Regions from separate parts of the Homo sapiens genome. Here regions 1 and 3 are each linked to region 2. Evidence: promoter capture Hi-C in human tissues and cell types (Jung and others, 2019). All regions are on one chromosome and are shown on one strand. The core of a region is centred on a gene start or on the middle of the fragment in contact, and the rest is flanking DNA. Distances in the headings are between cores, read along the strand shown. Region 1 has its middle 390 kb from the start of ATP5MC3. Region 2 holds the start of HOXD13 (homeobox D13). Region 3 overlaps LOC105373752 (a long non-coding RNA gene).

Region 1 (4,136 bases), core at 1,407-3,906, 520 kb before region 2:
AGAGGGAGAGGCTGCCACCTCCAAGGACCCACATGCCCTGGTTATGGCCAAGTTTCTGCTCCACAGTGGACACACCTTCAAACTTTTCTAGTGAATGTGCCATAGACAGACTGAATCAGACAGGAAGGCAAGGAATGGTGCCCGATAACTTGTTCCAGGCAGGCAAGTCAATGTGCACAGTGAGTTCAGCTGATAAGAATTTATTATGGAGAATTTACCCATAGCCCACTTCTCTGAAAGGATTTAAGATGACACATCATAAGCTTTAAAAAACAAATTTTTAGAAAGGGACTGAAGGAAAGGGGAAATTGGAGTATAGAAAACCAGAGTAAGCTCTAACATTTGTTACACTGAGTGCAAAATTTGTCTATGAGCTTCTCGATAGCCAAAGTAAAAAGTGTAGCCAGTCACGTGTTAAGAAAGGTGATAGCACATTCTTCCAGGAAGCCAAAATATTTTGACATTAAATTCTGGAAGCTATGCCTTACATAAGGAAATCTATGGGGCTACTTCTCATTGATATATGACAAGAAATCTGTCCTCTGTAAAGTTTCTTTTAAACTTTCCAAACATCTCAACCAAACTAAGGAGGTAAGAGAACTATTAATCCCAAATCCAGAAAAGAAAAGTAGAGAATGTCCCAAGAAGCAGCTAGAGAAAGATAGGAGGGAGGAATGGGGAGCTGGTGAAGATAGATTCAGGCTGCTACAGAATTAGAGGCAGCTTTGACTGTTGATCTCTCCTGGCCTGTTTCTTACAACAGCAATGGAACTAAGAAAAGTCTGAAGAAATGCATACATGAAACTCAAATATAATAGGAGGTAAACTACTCAACAATCCAGTAACTATGGTCAGTTCACGTTGGCAACTGGAGAGCTCTACATGGGAACAACAATCTAATTGTACTCATTCATTTATTTATTTATTTATTTTGAGACAGAGTCTCACTCTGTTGCCCAGGCAGGGGTGCAATGACACGATCTTGGCTCACTGCAACCTCCACCTTCCAGATTCAAGCGATTCTCCTGCCTCAGCCTCCAGAGTAGCTGGGATTACAGGCGCCCACCACTCTGCCAGGCTAATGTTTTGTATTTTTAGTAGAGACGGGGTTTCACCATGTTTGCCAGACTGGTCTGGAACTCCTGACCTCAGGTGATCCGCCCGCCTTGGCCTCCCAAAATGCTGGGATTACAGGAGTGAGCCACCGTGACCGGCCCTAATTGTATAATTTTTGATAATGAAAAATATCTAAAGAGTATCTATCATAAGCTAGTAGGGAAAAGAACTGCTTAATGTTTTTCAAGAGGTTGTATTTACATATAACCGGATAATGCACAGCAAATTTCCACTGTACCACTGGATTTACCTCTTAAATTTTGGTTATAAATATCAAGACTCCACTCTGACTTCCCCATCTCCGTACTTGGTGCTTGAGTTCAGGTTCCCAGCATTTCTGTTCAGATCTACAACAGTAGTCCCCAGTCTTCAACCTGCTGGTTCAAATCTCTGGCCTTCCTACTATCCTTCAGAGACACAAATCTTGTCATGTTGTTCCTGAGCTTAAAGTCCTGCAGGCAGCATTTCTCAGAGAGGCAAAGAAAGCTCTGCATGACTTGGGCTTTGGCCCCTTTCCCAAATAAGACTTTAGGTTCTGTCTTGCTGCGGTTCCCCAACCTGCCCCCTTTAGCCCAGCTACTTGGAACCCCTTGCAATACTCCTTGTGGACGATGGCTTCTAATGTCACTATGTCCTCCCTGCACATGCCTGGAAGGCCTTCCTGCAGGGCTTTCTTGTCAACTGGCATTTATCCTTCAAGACTCGAGATTTCAACACCACCTCTTCTCTAAGAGTCTCTGACACTTTCCAAGCTCCTGGATCCAACTTTCTAATAGTAGTCATATAGTATTATAAACAAATATGAGACTGTGCATTTGAATTGAGCTTTCAGTTCATTGTGAAGAGACAGGGTATAAATACTGAATATTTCTAATATAGCTCTCCTAATCATGGGTGTCAGAGCTTATTAGCTGTTCCAAGTCCTCAGGTAACTTGACATAGCCAAGAGGACTTATTCTGTAAGGATCAGAGGAAGTATCAGCAGCGTTTCCAGTCTGGTCATTTCTTGGTATGTTTGATACTTCAAAGAGATTAATTGCAGCTATGTGACATTGGGCAGGTTGTTAACCTCTTAAGCCTGTTTCCCCTTTTGTAAAATGGGGATAATTAGAGTACCTTCCTCATAGGATTGTGAGGATTAAACTATCTAACATCTACAAAGTTCTTAAAACAATGCAGGCACATAGTAAGAGCTACGGACTGAATTATGTCTCACCAAAATTCTGATGTTGATGCCCTAACTCCCAATGTTGACTGAATTTGGAGATATGGCCTATTAGGAAATAAGAAAGGTTAAGTGAGGTTATAAGGGTGCCACCTAGATCTCATGGGATTAGTATCCTTAGAAGAGACCATTTTTTTTCTCTCTCTCCTCACCTCCCTCCCTCTCTTTTTTCTCTCTCCCTCCTTCCATCTCTCTCTCTCACATACACGTCTCTCTCTCTCTCCTTCCCTCCCTCCCTCTCCATGTGAAGACACAGGGAGAAGGCTGTCATCTATAAGCCAAGAAAAGAGCCCTCACCAGAAACCAAATCAGCTGGCACTTTGATCTCCAGAATTGTGAGAACTAAGTTTCTGTTGTTTAAGCCACCCCGTCCGTGGTATTTAGTTATCGCAGCCTGAGCAGACTAAGGCAGTAAGCACTGGCAAATCTAGTCACTGTTGTTGTTTTTTTTTTATTCACTATCATATGTCTCCCACCAAAAGTGTCTCAAGCTCTTCTAATGGTCTTTGGGTGTTTTTTCTTTGCTTAGAAAACTATCAAAGCAAAAAAAAAAAAAAAGAAGTCAATCAGGCCTTTTTATTGCTATGGTTTCAAAGCGAAATTTAACACTGGGGTTTCTAATAGTGGAAATGACCATATGCAGAGCAGCCCGTGTCATGCTTCTTTCTTGAGGTTTCCAGCTTGAGACCATCAGGCGGGTGATGAAGGTTTTGGTTTCCTGTGCAGAGCAAAGTGCCCCAGCTGACGGCAGACTATTCTTTCAATTTTGAATAAAATGAGTGGAAGATATCTGAGAAATTCTGCTCTTTCTGCTTGAGTGAATACCTGTCATGCTTCTTACATCTACTGAAGCAATTAACACACACAAAGCTATATTTGCTAAGCCAGTGCTCCCCAACGGGGGTGTTAGCTTATACCGGTGAATAGCAAAGACCTCTCTGAATTTTTCAGCAAGTTAGCTTTTCCCTGAGCTCCTGTTCAGACAGCCACGGGGCAACTCCTGCATATCTGCTTGGCACCCTCCTCCCTGCTCTCTTCTCTTTCATGTTTACTTTCCCCACAGTTGGAGCTTCCGGTTTTCACCTGTAGACCCAACCAGACCTTGGCTCTGCTACAGATTTTATCCCCTACCCCACGCCCAACAGAGGCTTTGAGTAGCCCAGGGGCTCCCAACCCTGGCTGTGCATTAGCATCACCTGATGGAGCCTCTATTTTTTTTGAAACAGGGTCTTGCTTGCTCTGTCACCCAGGCTGTAGTGCAGTGGCTCGATCTTGGCTCACTGCAGCTTCTACCTCCCAGGCTCAAGCAGGCCTCCCACCCCAGGCTCTGGGGTAGCTGGGACTACAGGTACACACCACCAGGGGCAGTTAATTTTTGTATTTTTTGTAGAGACAGGGTTTCACCTGTTGCCCAGGCTTGTCTTGAACTCCTGGGCTCAAGTGATCCACCTCCCAAAGTGATCTGGTAGAGCTTTAAAAAAACCACTGAAGCCTAGGACCAACTCCATGACAATTATAGGAGAATCCAGTGGCTGAACATGGACAGTGATGACTCAAATATGTGGACCAAAGTTTTAATCTCCAGGAGCAGGCCGAGTTCAGAAGCTCAGCTTCACTCTGATCTTGCATTCCAGTTCTGCTCTGGAACCTCATCTTGTTTCCCAGTTTGAGTAACTGCTTCTTAGTCTCATACCTCTGTGCCTGATTTATCAGCCTGCTAACCAGGATTTTGTTCCCAGTTCTTTTGGAATGGGCCCTTTCTTATTATTCTTACCAGCCATCAGTCTCCCCCTCT
Region 2 (3,616 bases), core at 909-3,408:
TGTACTTATCAGTGAGAAAATGAAGCAGAAGCCCAAGGCACAAAACCACAGGGATATTTAATTTTAAGAGACTGAAAGTTTGTTGGTTCTACTTATATCTTAGAAATATTTCAACGAATTTGTTTTTTGGAGTCATAAAAAGTTAAAACTATCTTCATGTTTTCTCTGTCTGAGGAAGAAAAAATGAGACAAAGGGAAAATAAAAGCATTTCATGGTGGCCCATGGTTGGTGGTTTGGTACCAAAATTGTTTCATAAAGACCCAGCCAAACCCTCTTTAAAAGTTAGCAATCCTGTCGCCTCGCCACAGTTGGCCTTTTTAAAATGCTGGTTGAACTTTCATTGCTGACTTTTGCCTTCTTTTCCCAAATAGTGAAAAAAATTTTCTCATCAGCAAACTTCTATTCCCTATGATTTCCTGTAAATTCAGGCCCCTCCCATCTCAAATTTGATCATGAACATGTCTAGAACTTCAAAACGATGAAACGAATTCTCTTGCTTTTCCTTTCCAACACCCCTCTCATAACTTTCCCCTTTATTTGAGCCTTTTATGGTTACTGCGTTTTGCATGTCAACACTCCTAACACCAGCAGCCTACCCTGAAATGCCAGGCCAGGCCAAGGAGGGCCTTCCTGGCTCTCTTCCTCATCTTACTCAGGGCATCTTTGGTCGGGGAACAGTGGTGCTGGGTGACAAGCTTTCACCAATCACAGGCTTAGGGGAGTGATTTTCTTGGAGATGGGCTGGCTTGGGGAGTGCATGCCACAGAACCAAATGGGCTCTGAAGGATCCCATATCCACCCCCAGAACCCTGGGCTCATTGGATCTAATATTGTTCCTAAGGCAGAGCCCCAAAGTCACAGCAGGACTCTCATTGGTGCCCCATTAGTTGCTGAGATTGAGGGATGGTGGGCTGGAGCTCTGAGGCTGAGGAGCAACAGAAAGGGATGATGAGGGACAGGGCTGTAATCCCTAACACCCTGGCAGCTTGGTTCCAGAGCTGGACCTAGCCCCACCAGCACTGCCCTGAGCCCACCTAACCCCTTGAAGTCAGACCGTTTCTCTGGGCTGCTCCTATCACAAAATCCGAATTTGCTTGGAACAAGCGCCCTCTTAATTTGCCCCTCTCAGTTCTCTGCAGTTGACAGCTTGGAAAAGGAAGCGAAACAAAGGTCCCTGGGAAAGTGAAGTTTTCAATTAATTTGGTGTGAGAAACGGGCGGGAGTGGGTGGTGACTGCAAAATGCGAGGCCGGTCGGCTGCTGGAGAGACACAGAAGTTTCACGGTGGGAGGCTGAGTGGCTTTCTCCCCCGGCGCCGTTCTCAGGGTCTTTCTGCGGGTCGAAGAAGGACCCGCGGGAGCTGAGAGGCCCAGGTCGGAAGCACTCCCGGCTGGCCCAAGAGTAGAGGCGAAGAGCGTTGAGTAGGCATCCATGGACTTTTCTTTCTGGGACAGATTGTCAGGCTCACTGCGCCGATGCCTGTCTTTCATCTGTTTAAGTCTCTGCCGCCAGCCCCAAGGGCGCTTCATGGGCATTTTCCGAACGGACAGCGTGTGTGTATAGGAAGGGTCTGCTCCAATGCCTCTTACCTGTGTGAAATGCCTTTGCCGGGTACCAGTGCACAAGGTAGGGCAAATTAGCTCACTCGGATTTGGGGTCTAGAAGTCGACTAACTGAGGGATTCAGCAACAGGATAAAAAAATGGGCCTGTTTTCACATCATTCTGATCATCTCTGTCCTTCGTCTTCATTTTGCTGTGCAACTCGGGGAGCCGAGGAGAGGTGGCAAAAACAGCGGTTGCCGAGACAAGGCGCAGGCCTTGGCGCCCGCCTCAGTCGCAGACAGGGCCTGGGATGGGCCGTCGCGCAATCAACTCGTGGGGGTGGCTGCAGCGCGTACGCCTGGGTCGGGGGGGAGGGCGGGAATGGGAGGTGGACCCTGCAAGGGGCAGGAGAGGGGTGGGGGCCGGAGTGGGTGGGTCCAGCCAGGCCTGGGCCGGGAGCCAGGCTCCCCCGCGTTCCTACCCCCACGTGGCCGCGCGCAGCCAATGGCACGCCCCCGGCGGGGGCCCTCGGGGCGGGAGGCGGCCCCCCGACCGGCCCAGGCCCCCTCCCAACCTGAACTTCGTTTTTATAAACGTCCCGCGATGAGCTAACCTGTTGGAGGGCAGGCGGGCCGGAGGCGGGAGGCTCACAGAGGGAGAGAGGGCTAGAGGAAGAGGGCGGGAGCGAGCGAACCAGAGAGAAAGGAGAGGAGGGAGGAGGCGCGCCGCGCCATGGTGTCCTGCGCGGGGCCAGGGCCAGGGCCGGGGCCGGGCCAGGCCGGGCCATGAGCCGCGCCGGGAGCTGGGACATGGACGGGCTGCGGGCAGACGGCGGGGGCGCCGGTGGCGCCCCGGCCTCTTCCTCCTCCTCATCGGTGGCGGCGGCGGCGGCGTCAGGCCAGTGCCGCGGCTTTCTCTCCGCGCCTGTGTTCGCCGGGACGCATTCGGGGCGGGCGGCGGCGGCGGCAGCGGCGGCTGCGGCGGCGGCGGCGGCAGCCTCCGGCTTTGCGTACCCCGGGACCTCTGAGCGCACGGGCTCTTCCTCGTCGTCGTCCTCTTCTGCCGTTGTAGCGGCGCGCCCGGAGGCTCCCCCAGCCAAAGAGTGCCCAGCACCCACGCCTGCAGCGGCCGCTGCAGCGCCCCCGAGCGCTCCAGCGCTGGGCTACGGCTACCACTTCGGCAACGGCTACTACAGCTGCCGTATGTCGCACGGCGTGGGCTTACAGCAGAATGCGCTCAAGTCATCGCCGCACGCCTCGCTGGGAGGCTTTCCCGTGGAGAAGTACATGGACGTGTCAGGCCTGGCGAGCAGCAGCGTACCGGCCAACGAGGTGCCAGCGCGAGCCAAGGAGGTATCCTTCTACCAGGGCTATACGAGCCCTTACCAGCACGTGCCCGGCTATATCGACATGGTGTCCACTTTCGGCTCCGGGGAGCCTCGGCACGAGGCCTACATCTCCATGGAGGGGTACCAGTCCTGGACGCTGGCTAACGGGTGGAACAGCCAGGTGTACTGCACCAAGGACCAGCCACAGGGGTCCCACTTTTGGAAATCTTCCTTTCCAGGTAGGGGCGATGGAGAAAAGGGACCGACACGAGGGAGGGGGAGAGAGAAGGAGAAAAGAAAGGACTAAGAGTATGCGCCCCTACTTGGGAGTGGGAGTTGTGCCTGTGCTCCACACGTGACCAGGGTTAACCCAGTGGAAATTTGTCCAGTTCGTGTGAAATCTGTAAATTCCTCCTCTGATTTCAACTGCCTCCGTCACTGCCCTTTCTTTCCTGTGTGCAGCGCAGACACGTTTTTCTCCTAAAGTTGAGAGTCTCTGCGTGCCCTTTCCTTGGGCCTCTCCCTTTTCTCCTAAAGAGAACTTTTTCCTAAGAAACCTGACAGAGTTGGGTCCCCCCATTTTCAAAGACATCACTGCCCCAAGATGACTACTAAAGCTTGTTAGATCAAGCTCACGAACTCCTAACATAGGAACGCGGGAAATCAAAATTTGAGCAAAAGACCTGAGTTGGTATGTGTCTATGTATGTAAGTTTGTTTTTATACAACCGACATTTGCAGAAACTG
Region 3 (3,804 bases), core at 361-2,860, 620 kb before region 2:
CAAGTGTTCTTTCATTATGGCACTTAATTTTTTTTCAAGTAAAACAAGATAAACAAGTAGGCTGTGATTGAACTTTGACTTTCTAGTTAAGAATTCGCTATTTGAAGAGTCTATTCGCCTCACAAAAATGAGACTTCCTTTACAAAGAACCACAAAAGCCCAAAGTAAAGATAACCTTATATTTCCCAGATTGTGAGCATAGAAAATTATTCCGAGTCGTCACACAAACCAATTTTCGCACCTGGACTTGATCCAGGTACACGGCTGATAGAGACACACTCTGCCCTCCTCCTCCTCTCTTTTTTGTGTACTCATATTAACTTTGAGGAACCCATCTTGAGAGCTCTTGGCTGACTTCTATTTTAAGAACCTAGTTCAGCCATTATAATTAGTCCCTAGTTTGTCTGGAATCCTCTCGGGCATTCAAACTGTTCCAAGATCCTAAATAAGTCCTTTTCAGAATTTTCCACTGGAATATCCCTAATGGCAGAAGAAAGTCAACTTACCTTTGGGGGCCTGGGTCCCTAACTCAAAATGGAAAATGCTATTGAAGTCCTTTATTTTGCCATAAAGAAATAGAAAGTTCTGTATACACTTTGTGTTTTTCCATATAATAGATCTGAATTGTATTTTATTTTTTAAAACCGTTAATATTTTAAATTATTTATCATTGAGTAAAATGGATGGTCCAGGATGATACACTGTGCCTATAGCTTTGAGCATTCCCCAGCACACTGTTAAGGCGTGCTCTGAGGTACCAGTTCTCAGAATGGAGGCCTAGTCTGTTTCATGGAAAATCTTTTCATAAAACAAGCTTATCATTAAATATTTGCAATTGCAAACAATACTGCAAAGCAAGTGTTCATCAATAGGGAACAGATGACATTTTTTGTTGTGCCGCATCCAGACAGTGAATATCATACAACTGTTTAAAAGGATAAATACCATCTATTGTATTGTCAAGTAAAGATGTCCATAATGTAGTGTCAAGGGAAAAAGTTACAGAATGATATTATAGGGTGATCCCATTAATATATTTGTACAGTGCTTTTAAAATCTTTGTATGGAATAGGGTCTGGGAAAATTTCACTTTCCATGGGAATGCATTAATTATTTTGCACCAACTATGGATTATTGCAAATCTAAAACAACTTACGTAATCCCATTTTGAAAAAAAAGAAAAAAGCTTTGCACAGATTGTACCTGTGGTAAACCTAAACAAATACAAACAAACTCTCTAGATTCAGTTTTTTCATGGGAAATTTGTATAATCTTAACACTAGAAGAAAAGACAAATTGTAGTGTTCTGTACAAATTAGGAGTTTTTCTTTTGAGATGGTCTTACTCTGTTGTCCAGGCTGGAGTGCAGTGGCATGATCATGACTCGCTCCTTTTGGGATCAACTGATCCTCCTACCTCAGCCTCTGGACCAGCTGGGACCACAGGTGAGTACTACCGTATCTGGCTTTTTTTTTTTTTTTTAGAAGTTCGGCCTCACTATGTTGCCCAGGTTGGTCTTGAACTCCTGGGCTCAAGCAATCCTCCTGCCTTGGCCTCCCAAAGTGTTGGGATTATAGGTGTGAGCCGTTGCACCAAAAATAATTCCAGCCAGGAATTCTTTTTGTAGTACTCTTGATGAATTGTTATAAGGATTCATTTTGAATATTTCATCTGATGGAACACTGAGGTCATGTAGAAGAGGACCAAGAAGAAAACAAAAATTTACCCTATTCCTACCATGCAGAGACAACTCATAGGTCCTTTCTCATGTTGAACCGAATCTGGGCTCCTCTTCTCAATGGTCCTGGTTCTCTGTTCTAAAGATGGATTTCTAATAATGCATCTGTGCTCCCTCTTCTAGGTAACAGCCTCCGAACAGGTAAACGCAGATTGTACATTTCTCTTCAGTCTTCTCTAAATTAAGCAGAATTGACCTTCAAATATTCCTTAAAGCACACAGTTTCCTTTTGAGGCTTATAAATTTGACATTGCTCATCTTAAAGCCTGCTCCCAAATGATTGTGACCTTGTAACTAAGGTTTGACCATCATGAACAGTGATTGTCACTCTATATCTGTGGATCTAATTCAAAATGGAAAATTTCTTGGAAGTCTTATATTTTACCACATTAGTCTATGTATCTGTATTTTTAATTTAAAATTAATATTTAAAATTACCTAGTGTATTAGTCTGTTCTCAAACTGCTATAAAGACATACCTGAGACTAGGCAATTTATAAAGGAAAGAAGCTTAATTGACTCACAGTTCACTTCCACATGGCTGGGGAGGCCTCAGGAAACTTATGATCATAGTGGAAGGGGAAGAGGCACATCTTACATGGCAGCAGGCGAGAGAGATCAAGCAAGAGCAGGGAAAACTGCCTTATAAAACCATCAGATCTCATGAGAACTCATTCACTATCACAAAACAGCATGGGGGAAACCACCTCCATGATCCAATCACCTCCCACCTGGTTCCTCCTTCCACACATAGGGATTATGGGGATTACAATCCAAAATGAGATATGGGTGGGGACACAGAGCCAAACCTTATCACTTACCAAGTAACATGGATGGTTTAGAAAGCCATACTGCACCTATGGTTCTGCATATCCCCTAACAAACTGCCATGATGCCATCCTAAATAGTGCGCTTTCAGAAGGAATTGCCATAGAATTTTTGCCATATTGTCATTAAAATAAAATTCTCTAAGTACAATGTCATTCTCATAATCATCCAGACGTTTGATACATATCAATTCTCTACTGCATACAGCTAGGTGCTGGGATACCATGAGAACCTGACCATCTCAGTTTCTGCCTTCACAGATGTTTTTTCAAGGGAGGGATACAGAAAAGTGAACAGGTAATTAATTACAAGGCAGAATGTGAGACAGTATGATGAGCTATAGGGGATCACCTATACACTATGACGATCTTGTAGGGGATCACCCAATAGGTGCTCAGAGCTCAGAGGCAGCTTCCTGGAGGAAGAGATACATAAGTTCAGATTTGGAGATCCAGGAAGAATTAGCCAGATCATTAAAGAGGGGGAGAAAAGTGTGTTTGAGGGTGCTCTAGGTACAGACCAGCATCAGCACAATCCCAGGGGCAAAAGAAAGCATGGCATATTCAGGCAACTGAAAGAAGTTGAATGTGATTGAGAGTGGAGCTTGAGGTGAGAACTGATAAAGTTTGCTGTTTGAGAGGATAATATTGGGGCCAGATCATGAAGGACCTTGAGAAACTTGGTAATGAATTTAGACTTTGTTCTAAAGGTCAAGAGAATCCACTAAGAGTATCCAAGCCTGGGAACAGATTGGAGGTGGTCCACCAGACAGGAGGCAAAAAGGCCAGACTCAGGCATTAATTTATTTGGATTTTCTGAGTTTCGATTTTCTCATCTTTGAAATAAGGACAATAGCACATATCTCAAGGACTGTTATGGAATTTAAATTGAATATTAGAAATCAAGAAGCTAAATCAGTGTTTGGCATGTTAGGAGACCAAGACTATCTCCTGGCCCCTCGTAAGTCTATGGTGTTGTATTTTTATTGGTATCTGATTTATTTTGTAACATATGATAATTAATATTCATTACTGAATGATTCTTAACTATGATCAAAGGCCCACATGTTCATATGTCCATGCAATGATGACCATGCCTATCAGCAAAAGGGCAATCAGTGTTCTTATAGAAGTTATTGGAATTGTGAACCACTTGTTAGCTTTCATGAATACTGGAAACCACCATATTGGACATTTAAAAAAAGTCTTTTGTCCTCTTAACTAAGCAAACATGTACTT

The links. Contacts are between HindIII fragments. The study calls those that stand out against the background at their distance.
Region 1: a fragment that was not itself captured here is called in contact with the fragment with the promoter of HOXD13 in region 2 in 1 of the 25 tissues and cell types used here (aorta).
Region 3: a contact is called between a fragment that was not itself captured here and the fragment with the promoter of HOXD13 in region 2, in 1 of the 25 tissues and cell types used here (bladder).

What each region holds. Positions count from the first base shown.
Region 1 is chr2:175,572,802-175,576,937 of GRCh38, forward strand. No RefSeq gene overlaps it. Among named protein-coding and RNA genes, the nearest start is that of ATP5MC3, 390 kb to the left of the region's middle. The HindIII fragment of the contact is 6,681 bases long and covers 1-4,136 here.
Region 2 is chr2:176,090,563-176,094,178 of GRCh38, forward strand. HOXD13 (homeobox D13) reads left to right here and starts at 2,159. Exons shown (of 2, transcript NM_000523.4): 1 at 2,159-3,109. The coding sequence starts at 2,329. The HindIII fragment of the contact is 2,672 bases long and covers 2,092-3,616 here.
Region 3 is chr2:175,469,864-175,473,667 of GRCh38, forward strand. LOC105373752 (a long non-coding RNA gene) reads left to right here. Exons shown (of 3, transcript XR_923596.2): 3 at 1,358-1,445. Among named protein-coding and RNA genes, the nearest start is that of ATP5MC3, 290 kb to the left of the region's middle. The HindIII fragment of the contact is 4,319 bases long and covers 1-3,770 here.